2 separate regions of the Homo sapiens genome follow, and region 2 is linked to region 1. The links are contacts of gene promoters, found by promoter capture Hi-C in blood cells and fetal thymus (Javierre and others, 2016). All regions are on one chromosome and are shown on one strand. The core of a region is centred on a gene start or on the middle of the fragment in contact, and the rest is flanking DNA. Distances in the headings are between cores, read along the strand shown.

Region 1 (5,658 bases), core at 2,257-4,756:
TGATTTATAAGCTTGTTTGGGGAACTGTTACTTTAAAATGGCACACAGGATGTATATTTTTTAAGTCCTTGCATATCTGAAAATTTTTTAAAATCAAGCTTGGCTGACAGTTTGTCTTGATATACAATTCTAAGTTCAAAATAATTTCATTTAAAAAATGTGAAGGCATTCAAAGAAACTTCTGGATCCATTATTGCTCTTGAGAAATCCAATGCAATTTTTTTTCCTTGTATGTGATCTGCTTTATGTCTCTGGAAGATGTTTTAGGTTTTTCTCTTTATTCCTGCATTTATTTTATCTCAGAATGATATATTTCGATGAGTTTAATTATTTGATTAATTTAAAGGATTGTTTTCCTGGACGTTTAGTGAAACTTTCGATCTCCAAAGTTCATCATCTTCATTTCTGGTATTGTTTTTGCATTGTTTTCAAATTAGTGTTTTTATCCTTTTCTGCATAGAAAGAAGTCTTTTCTAGAGCTTTCTGAGATTTCCATTAGTCAGAATTTTTTTCCATTTTTTGAAAATTTTCTGCAGCTAAATAGATTTTTCAACTTAGTCTTCTAACCCATCTGTCAGTTTTTTTGTAAATGTTGAGTATATTTTCAATTTCAAAAGATTTTTTTCCTGTTTTGTATATAAATTTCTTTTTTATTCATTATCTCTAGGAGCAGGGTAAAAAGGCATGTGTTCAGTTCATCTTGTTGAACCACAAATTACTCTAGTTTACTTTCTCCAGAAAATAAACCTCCAGTCTCCTGGAAGCTGGATTGAGCAGATGGAGGAACTTATGGTTGGTTGATTGTGTGACAGTGGGGAAGGGAACTCTGGGTCCAAGCATTCCAATATACAGACGTATAACCAAACCCCTGTGTTTACCCCACCACCTGGCCTCCTTCTATGCTGAGATTTCTGCCTCCTAGGCCTGAGCCTGCCCAGGTTTTGCAGGAAGAATTGGCTTGCTTTTTACCATAATCTCTCCTGCAGGCATGCAGTGTATAGAATCCTCTGCTCTTCCAAATCAGTTACCACGCCTGCATCTGATTTAGCTTCTTCCAAAATTCATTACAAGTTTATGTGTTATTTTATCTGCTTATTTGTCTTTGTGATTCAATAACATTTAAAAAAATTCATTTATTCTTGTAATAAAGCAGTTTGAGGAGAGATGAAATACATGTGATAATCTTGCCATTTGTAACTACACATCACCCCATGTACATTAATGTTTACCTCAGTGCCATATTGATTGAATTAGACAGATGTTATGTCTACTTAAGTTATGCTACATAAACTCCAGGTACAGGAAGATGTTATTACTATTATTATCATGACACACAATGCTGTCACCTTGTTTTCACTGGTTTTCCACTGTTTTTTATTCTGCTCTACCTCTGGTCAAAGTGGCCTTCATGGAGTGGCCAAGCAACATTTCTCTTATGTCTTCCTACTCTTTCTCTTCCTTGGAACCCCTCTTCCCAGGGAAGGAAATGTTCCACCACTCTCTGGTAGTGTCACTATGTAACACTACTGAATCTGAGCCTTGGAACCTCGGAGACAGGACCATATGTGGCAAGTCACTCCAGGAGAGCTATCCCTGCAAGAGTTGGCCCTATAAAGCAGGTGACACACTTATCTAGGGAAAGGTGGCAAGGAGAGTCATCAATAAATGTGTGTGTCAGATTTTCTTATGGCAGGAACCTTTTCTAGAAGTTGCAGTGAGGTAGTACAACACAGTGACCACTGTGAGCTCGGCATTCAGGATCAATAGACCTGTCTTCCACCTTTTGAACTTCATCACTTTGGACAGATTTACTGCGACTTTCTCAACCTCAGTTACCTCATTCTGAAAATGGAGACAATAAATATAATAGACGCCTTGCCTATTTCACAGTAATGTTGTGAAAGCCAAATGAGATGAAACTCTATTGCATACAGGAAATAATAGCTATTAGGACTAATGTCAGTAGTGAACACATGAACTAGATAAAGAATATGGGTTATCATTGTATAGCACAGAGGGTGATTTTAAGTCAATGTGTTAACAGTGGAAAAGATTCAAGGCTCTTATGTTCTTTCTTTTATTTCTGTCTGGGCCCATGGACACACACTTCTTATATACTTAGATATTGCTGTTAAATGCAAAGTAGATTTATCATAAATATAGATTCCAAGCATACATACTTTGAAAATCTACAGGCTGAGCCTCAAAGACTTTTATGCAGTAGATCCAAAATAATTTTTAGGAACTGGATCTTACTTGGGGAGAATGGAATAGATTGTTACCAAAATTATAAGTATAGCCAACACATTCATAGAACTTACTGTGCCAGGCACGTTCTACACACATTACTGATATGAAGTCAATTCTTCACAATAACACTATGAAGACATTATTATTACTCTTCTTTTCAACTTTCAAGAACATTGAAGGACATAAAATAGAACTTCTTTAATAGTTTCATAATAGAATAGACAGATTTCTATGAGACCAAAATGTTTTCTCTAATATTCCATTTTTCCACTAGTTTGCTATTGTTTGTTTTGTGTTTTGGTTTGGGCTATTCCTTTGCTCCCTTCTACAAGAAATTCTCTGGGAGCTGATAACAGCAGTGCCTCCCAGATTGTCTCTAGGGCATCGAATAAGAAACAAGTTAAGTAATTAAAATTCAAGCAGTCATTGGCATCTCGTTGTTTACTAACATGAATGCAAGACACAGGTTTGGAACTTTTAAATTTTGTTCACAGAGGAGTAAATCGGTTGTTATTATAATGTACCTAACCTTGTATTCTTACCTTTACTACCAGTCTGTAAATTAGGGATGTCTGAATGTGTCTAAAATGGAATCCCAAGATGGGCAGCCAGGATCTTTGCTTTGTGGACGAATCTAATGTGTTTAGAACACGGCATAGCACATAGTAGGTGCTTAACAAATACTGGTTCAATGCCTCCGTGTGCTCATTATCTTACTTAGTGGTAACCTATTGATCTCTGAAGTGACTTTAGGAAGTGAATTAGGGCTTTGGGAAGTGAATTTGGATGTTGCATACTGATTAATGCATTCATACGAACACATCCTAACTTTTAAAATATTAATTTCTTTCCAACGCCCTCTTTTATTTCCCGAGGCCATCCTCTGCTCCCCACTCGCAATCCCTCGCCTTCACTCCTCATAGTTAATGAGACACCCCCTCGGAGGAGAGAACGCAATGTCAGGGCCCCAGTTCTCACAGCGCCCTGGGCTCTTTGAATGAGAGACATCAAAGAAAACACAGAACAAAAATGAATAAAAATGAGCTCGCTGGTAAGGCTAGAAGCCCCACAGTGTGGAGACTTCATCCCCGAGAGGAGTGTGTTTCTCACTGCAGCAGTTGAGTCACCAGCAAGACTTGCCTGAGGTGAGCTCCGCACATCCGCGTTGGGACTTGCAGACACGCCTTCTTCTCACACAAACCTTACCCAGCCCCGCCGCCGCGGCGGACTCCGAGGGTGGTGCCACCAGCCCTGCCACTCGCAGTCCTGACGGGCAGGGGCTGCGGACCGCCCGGCCTTGGACCCATCCGGAGCCACAGGTTGGAGGAGATAAGTAGCTGTCCCCGTGCTCATCGCCCTGTGGAGCAGATCCTGTCTCCTTGCTGACGGTGGAGCCCGGGAGTTCCAGGGCTTGGGAAGGGGAAGGAAACCTCTCTGAAATCTGACACCTGCTCTCCCGGCAAGGAAACTTCGCAGGCTGGTGAGTTGGGAAGGCGGGCTGCTGCTGCTGGAACGCGTTCCCACCCACCCGGGTGCTGCAGCGCCGGCCTGCGCCGTGGGAAGTGAGGCCTCTGTGTGTGTGTGTGTGCATGTGTGAGTGCGTGTGCACCTTCGATCGCGGTTTCCAGCAGAAATCCTTGCAAAGAAGACAGTAGTGCTGTGTGCTGCACGGATGGCATGGGCCAACTCGACCTGGCTCTCCTTGAGTGTTTGCTTATCAAACAGCTGGTTACCACCAAAAAAAGCAAAAAGAAAAACAAAAAGCCTAGGCACAGCAATGCCAATTTCCTTTCATTTGCATCTCAAAAAACAATCAAAATAATGAATAAGAAAAAGCATGGATGATGATGTGCTCAGAGTTTCATTCCAGGAGGAGCGACTTAGTGAGGCAAGCCAGGAGAGCAATAAGACATTTATATGCACTTCCTTAGATGAAATAGCCACAGAGACCTTAAGAGTACTTTCTGTTTTCCAATTTTTTGCTCTGTTACTTTCGAATTCTGATCTAAGTGTTGCACCAACTAGGGTATATGTGTGCATGTGTGTTCACCCAACTGATCACAATAAATTAGCTTTCAAGACTTTCCCACCCAATGCAACATTAATTAAGCCTCTGAAAACTACTGAAGTAGGTGAACTGTAAGCAGAGACTGCATTCCTAGGAAAAAGCTGTGTTTGGTTAGAGCCTTCACACCTGTATCATGTTTTGTGAGTTTTTTATGTCAAGATGTAAAGCTAAGGGTATGTAATTCCAGTTGTTTTAAACTGCACATCATTAAATTAAGCCCAAAGTAATAACATAAATTTCAAGGTTATTAACAACAAAATTATTGTTTAATATAATACAGCTCTGAATTTTGATTTTGTTCTGTTTATAAGAAAAATGTCTACAGTTCTCAATATTTAGTTATATTCACACATATTCATTCATATATAGAATATACAGGGTTTTATGGTTATAAATTTTGAAAAGTTGAGGGAAAGGATAGACTTAAGCATTAATATAAACTCAGATATTTAAGTTTAATGAATTTTCAAGCTGCTGTAAAGTCCATATTGCAGTGATGAAGAGAGAGACATACCTGTCATGTGCCATTGCCCCTCAAATAGTTATTTTTCATAGTTTCCTAGCATAATCCTCTACCCAGATGGGGTCAGCCATCCTTGAAGGCAAGAGGTGATTCCTACCAATGACCAAAAAGGGGTAATCTTGACAGATAGTTTAATATTAATGGAGCTTTTCTGTTTCAGAATTGACTATGGCCTCTCATACAGTGTTACTGTCATTGCTTTCGAAAGGAAAACAAAACATAGCAGATAAAACTGGATGAGCCTGTTCTCATAGTTGCCAAGAAGGGATAAAGGGAATCTGTTGAATGTAAGCAAACCACAGTTCCCCTTTCTCATAGGTCATTTCTGGAACAGGCATGTTTGACCCAATAGGGAAGGTAACCCTAATATAATTGATCTTCTTGGTAGAAGATCAGTTGGTATGCCAGTTTACACTACAACTGTATGTTGGTTTCAGAATTGCTGTTCATTTATTTCACTGTTTTTCTGGAAAAATGGAAGTTATCCAAATGTCCAGGTAGTTCAGAATAGAAACCTGCTCTTTTCCCACCCTCACTCCTGCAAATTTTTGGTTAGGTTTTTGGGCTCTCAGATCAGTACGGCATGAAATATAGAACAATTACTCATATAAAACTCATCTCACAATCCAGTTTCTTCAGTTGATTCATCAAGGCAGGTTGACCAATAGTTCAGCTCTTAAGCAAGTAATTGTAATGTTGAGATGCAAGGAAATGATTTCAATAAAAACAGACAGGACAAATCAGGTGTTTCCCATGAAGAATATGTCACTTTCTAAAGATGGCTGCCAAATGGGAATGATTTTTTTTTTAAATTCAT
Region 2 (5,619 bases), core at 1,832-4,331, 87 kb before region 1:
ACTGCCTTTGAATACATTGCTTACATTTTCCACATAAGAATAACTGGAAAAGAGGAGGAAATGAATATTTGTTGATCACCCATTGATATGGTTGGGCTCCGTGTCCCCACCCAAATCTCATCTCAAATTATAATCCCCATAATCCCCATGTATTGAGGGAGGGATCTGGTGGGAGGTGACTGGATCATGGGGGTGGTTTCTCCCATGCTGTTCTCGTGATAGTGAATCAGTTCTCGTGAGATCTGATGGTTTTTTAAGTGGCGGTTTCCTCTCTTGCTGTCTCTCTCACTTGCTGCCATGTAAAACATGCCTGATTCCCCTTCCACCATGATTGTAAGTTTCCTGATGCTTCCCCACCCATGCAGAACTGTGAGTCAATTAAACCCCTTTCTTTATAAATTACCCAGTCCCAGGGAAGTTCTTTACAGCAGTGTGAAAATGGACTAATACACCTATCATATCCCAGACATTGCAATCAGATTTTTCCATAACGTACCTCTACCTTAAATCCCTTTTTAGAACATAACCACATTCATCTGTTTTTTAATTTGATCTGCACCTTTTGCTAGTTGTGGAACAAAACTTACTTGAATGTTTTTCATGAAACAATTTTGTTATAATATACTTTACCTAAAATAAGCCTCATTTATTTTAATTGTACAACTCAATGAGTCTTGAGAAATGTATATCTCTGTGTAACTATGGGTGTCTTCAAGATAGAGAATATTATCACCCCCCAAATTTCCCTGATGCTTCTTTGCAGTCAACCCTAGCCTTGGGCTGCCTTTAATATGCTATTTGTCACTGCAAGTTGATTTGCCTTCTGTGGAATTACATATAAATGCATCATACAATATGTATGCTTTTGTGTATGTCTGCTTTCACTCCATGTCATGTTTTTGAGTTTTGCTGTGTGTTGTTTCATTTTAATTTATTAGTACTCAATAGTATTCCACCATATAGAAATACTACCTTTTGGCCAGGTGTGGTGGCTCATGCCTGTAATCCCAGCACTTTGGGAGGCTGAAGCGGGTGGATCACCTGAGGTCAGGAGTTTCAGACCAGCCTGGCCAACATGGTGAAACCCCATCCCTACTAAAAATACAAAAAGTTAGCCAGGCGTGGTGGTGGGTGCCTGTAATCCCATCTACTTGGGATGCTGAGGCATAAGAATTGCTTGAACCTGGTAGGCGGAGGTTACAGTGAGCTGAGATCCTGCCATTGCACTCCAGCCTGGGCAACAAGAGCGAAACTCCATCTCAAAAAAAAAAAAAAAAAGAAAGAAAGAAATACTACCTTTTTAAAATCCATTCTCCTGTTGATGTACCCTTAAATTCTTTCTTTCTTTTTTTCTTTCTTTTTTTTTTTTGCTGCTATGAATAAAGTTGCTATGACCTTTGATCTTCAAATCTTTGTGTGGCACATTTTTATTTCTCTTGGTGAATACCTAAGAGTGGAATGGCTGAGCCACATGCTAAGTGTACATTTAGCTTTGTAAGAAGCTGCCAAATTTTATTCCAAAGTGATTGTTGCATTTTACTTTCTCCAGTACAAATAGTTTCTCCACATTCCCATCAGCATTTCGTATTCTTAATATTTTTAAGTTTAACCCTTCTAGTGGGTATGTAGTGGTATCTCACTGTGATTAATTTGCATTTCTTCGAAGTCCTAATGGTATTGAGCTTCTTTATGTGAGCTTATTAGACATTCATATATTTTCTTTTGAGAAATGTCTACTCAAATCATTTGCCCATGTAGATGTGTAAGAGTTATCTATATATTCTGGATACAAATTGTTTGTAAGATATATGTATTGCAAATATGTTCTTCTCTCATTCTGCAGCTTGCCTCTTTATTTTCATAACAGCTTAATTTGATATAGTCCCACTTACCTATTATTGTCTTTTATGGTTTGTTCATGGTCTGGTAACAAGTTCATGGAGGAAGAATTCATCTCATGGCTACAATTATTAAAATTCAGTTACTTGATTGATTCTGGATAAGGCAGTAATGTTAAGGATCTTCCTATAAGAATGATTATTTCTTATAGTTTCTATTAGCTCATCCCCAGATAATGAAACAATTCTCAGACATTGTCCTCCTAACCCCTTAGATGTCTAAATAGAAAGAGTTATAGAGCCTCAGGGATATGAAGGAAATGATGAGTCATTCTTGCAATCCTTACGTTGAATAAACATTTTAGTATTCAGACCATTTTTTCCAACACAAATTTCCAGAACCTATTTTTATTAAAGAGAGCAATCTAACGTAACTCATCTGGATATTAGAACAAGAAAGGAAATGAGGACCTTCTTTCCAATGTTTTATTTATAGGATACCTGCCTGAGTTTCCACAGCTTGACAGTGGAATGTCTCCAGTCAACATGTCACTTTCTCTCAAGTAGAATCATGACCTAGGAGTGGCTAAAGTGGTCCTGTTGGCACAGTGAGAGCTTTCTAATTAGTTAGATCTAGGTATACATGCTGGATCAGCAACTTTGGCAAGTCTCTTAAAAGTTCTGAGCCACAGCTTCCTTCATTTGTAAAATGTAAAGCTTGGGATATATAAGCCAGTATATAGCAGGCTCTCACTAAGTGATAGATAGACATAGACAGATGATAGATAGATAGATAGATGATAGATCGATAGATAGATAATATAAAGAATGAAATGAGGAGATTTTACTGCTAGTGCATTTTTATTAACAGAAGAAAGGAGGCTGAGAAATTGATGAAAACATATGACAAGACTAAAACTTGGTCTTTATTTTCAATAAACTCTACCTAGGTTTTTGGTCATGATGATAATCTAATAACCTACTTTCATAAAAAGCATTTATTCCGGAAGTCATGGATACTAAATAGTGTCCCTAGCATACAAAACCTAAGAGGCAAGTGGTATCACAATAATTTTCAAAGATAAGGTAAAATACAGTTAAATGTTACTAAGACCATATCTTCCTATGAGACCCTTTAAATTTTGAATTAGTAAATCAAAACTTGAAAAATACAAAAGGACAACATTAGAACACTCACCTACATTCCTCCGCCCATCCCACCATGTCACCCACAGCCCTGTTCCTTAAAGCTAAAGAGGTTTATCACCTATTCAGTGTTTCCATTTGCCAATACAGTCAAAGATGAATGTATATTATTTCCTCCCTTTTGTCACAAAAAAGTTAGTATACTAAGTTCACTGTTGTGCATCTGGCTTTTAAGAAATATAGTGGCCATGAGAAGCTACTAAGAATCATTCCAATCTTATGTACTGTGCTGCTGAACCAAGAACTCTAAGCTCTTTTTTTCTTCTTTTTTTGAGACAGGGCCTCGCTGTGTTGCACAGGTTGGAGTGCAGTGGTACAATCTCAGCTCACTACAACCTCTGACTCTTGGGCTCAAGCCATCCTCCCACCCCAGCCTCCCAAGTGGCTGGGATTACAGGCATGCACCACCATGCCCAGCTAATTTTTTGTTTGTTTGTATTTTTTGTAGAGAGAGGGTCTCACCATGTTGCCCAAGCTGGTCTTGAACTCTGGGCTCAAGCAGTCCACCCACCTCCATCTCCCAAAGTGCTGAGATTACAGGGGTGAACCACTGTACCTGGCCTCTAAGCTTTCTTTAAGTAAAAAGTGACCTACCTCCTGGCAATGGCTTAGTTCTCCTTTTGCCTAAGCTGGCAGTAGGTAAGAAGTCAAGGCCTCTATAATATCTGAAGACATAGTCTAGAGTTAAATACTTGCAAAAACAAGCTCTGAGGATTCTGACATTCTACCTTCTGGCAAAATCAGTCTTAAGGGGTTTGTTTTGGCCTGAAGGCTTGTGCTACAAATAAAAGTATATTTCAGTGTAAAAGTTAATGCAGCTTTTCATAGAGGAGTGAATGTTTTCATATGCAAAGCTTGAAAGGGAAAGAGAATCTAAAGCAGTCTTATTTTTCTGATTAGGACAAATGACCAGGAGAAAGCCTTTAAGGCAATTGTTTGCAAAATGACTTAATTATCACCCTGGAGGAAACTGTAAGCCTCTTGTAACACTGTCCTTCAGGAAACTTACAGGAGAGACCTTTCTGGCAGTCGTAATGGTGGGTGGAATACAGTGTTGAAGTCATTATCGTACATGCGGTTTATTTGATGATTAAATTGCCTGGAAGCAGTTTCATCTTTCTGAGTTTATAAGCATCCTAGCTTGTTTTTCAAAAACCTAAAAGTACATGTACATGATGTTACTTAAATCTATCAGAACGGAAGGCAGGAGGAAGTTGGGGTCAGTCATACAAATGTTATAAAGTATAAGGTCATTTAAATCATTTGTAATTTATTTACTAAGAATACATTTGCTATGTCTGCAATAGATTGGCCTTCATTTCTGTGTTTTGCCTCTGCTAATAATCAAGTTTATTTGCATTTTCTGAGTATAAAGCAAGTAATTATGAGAACAAGTGCCCTGAAGACAGCTGAGTGGTAGGTGTAAGGCAGTCTGGCTTCCAGATTTTCTATGTTTCTAGACTGTGAGACAGAAAACAGCAAATCCCTGGAGTCTAACCACAAGGAGGATGCTGCCCACTTGCATATGAAGACCAAAAGCTTCCAGTTGCATAACACTGTGCTTTCCTCTGTGGATGTTGGCCATATCCCAGGACCTTGATAATAGGGCTCATGACTCCTAAAGTGTGCAGGAAAGCCTTGCAAATTTTGCATCTATGTCAACTCACCCTGTGAGGTCAGCTTTTGGCAGGATGACCAGACCATGTACTACTTTTGGAAGCCTGCAGAAGTTGCTGGCAATCCTCAGAAGTGTGTCTTCCAATTTGGAACAAGATTTTCAAGCCTAGATAGAAACAGAGAAGATCACTTTTCTTCCTGGTCCTGTATAACATAATCTCAAGCATTCTTGGACACCCACTCTTATTGCCTAAGCCAATGATTTTGTATCTGGTCCTTAATTCCACACTACTCTGCAGCATCTCATTCAGCTATTGTGCTATTTAGCTTTTACATACTGTAGTTTTCAACATTTTGTGTCACTGTAATTTTCAGCATTTTATGTCACTATATTAACATAACTGAATTAGAAGCTCTTTTTGTGGTGGTATTCTATTATTCATTCAGCCCATATTGATTGAGTTCCTACTATGAATCAGATCCTCTTCTAGGGGCTGATAATAGAGTTCCTGTTATCTTGGAGCTCCAGACAGTACAATGCAAATATGGAAATGCAGCTATAATATGTCAGATGTGAATAATTAATGAAGATCAAGGGCCGAGAGAGTAGGAGCTGATTTCCATTGAATCATGAGTGAGGAAAACTCAGTCCATGTGGAACTTAGGCAGAGTCCTGAGATCAGTGAGGGAATGAGCCATTCAGACAATAAATGCGGGAAAAAGCACCTAAGGCAGAGGGAATGATGACTGGTGGATGCCTGGTCCTTGCATAGCAGTGTGTTTGTCACATTCCAGGAAGAGCAAGAAGGTAAATATGGCTAGAATAAAGAGGGAGAGAGGAGAGTAATAGGAGGTGAGATCAGATACACAACAAAGAGCCAGAGTGGACAGAGCGAATCAGCTCATAGATCCTTGATAGAACTGTGGCCTTTATGCCCAGTGAGATGAGAAACCCTTG

What was found. Contacts are between HindIII fragments. The CHiCAGO score rates a contact against its expected background, and 5 or more counts as called.
Region 2: a contact is called between a fragment that was not itself captured here and the fragment with the promoter of RAB27B in region 1, in 1 of 17 cell types (megakaryocytes). The highest score is 5.5, in megakaryocytes.

What each region holds. Positions count from the first base shown.
Region 1 is chr18:54,824,971-54,830,628 of GRCh38, forward strand. RAB27B (RAB27B, member RAS oncogene family) reads left to right here and starts at 3,507. Exons shown (of 6, transcript NM_004163.4): 1 at 3,507-3,730. The HindIII fragment of the contact is 8,053 bases long and covers 97-5,658 here.
Region 2 is chr18:54,738,196-54,743,814 of GRCh38, forward strand. It overlaps a transcript of RAB27B not described here. Among named protein-coding and RNA genes, the nearest start is that of RAB27B, 87 kb to the right of the region's middle. The HindIII fragment of the contact is 1,057 bases long and covers 2,554-3,610 here.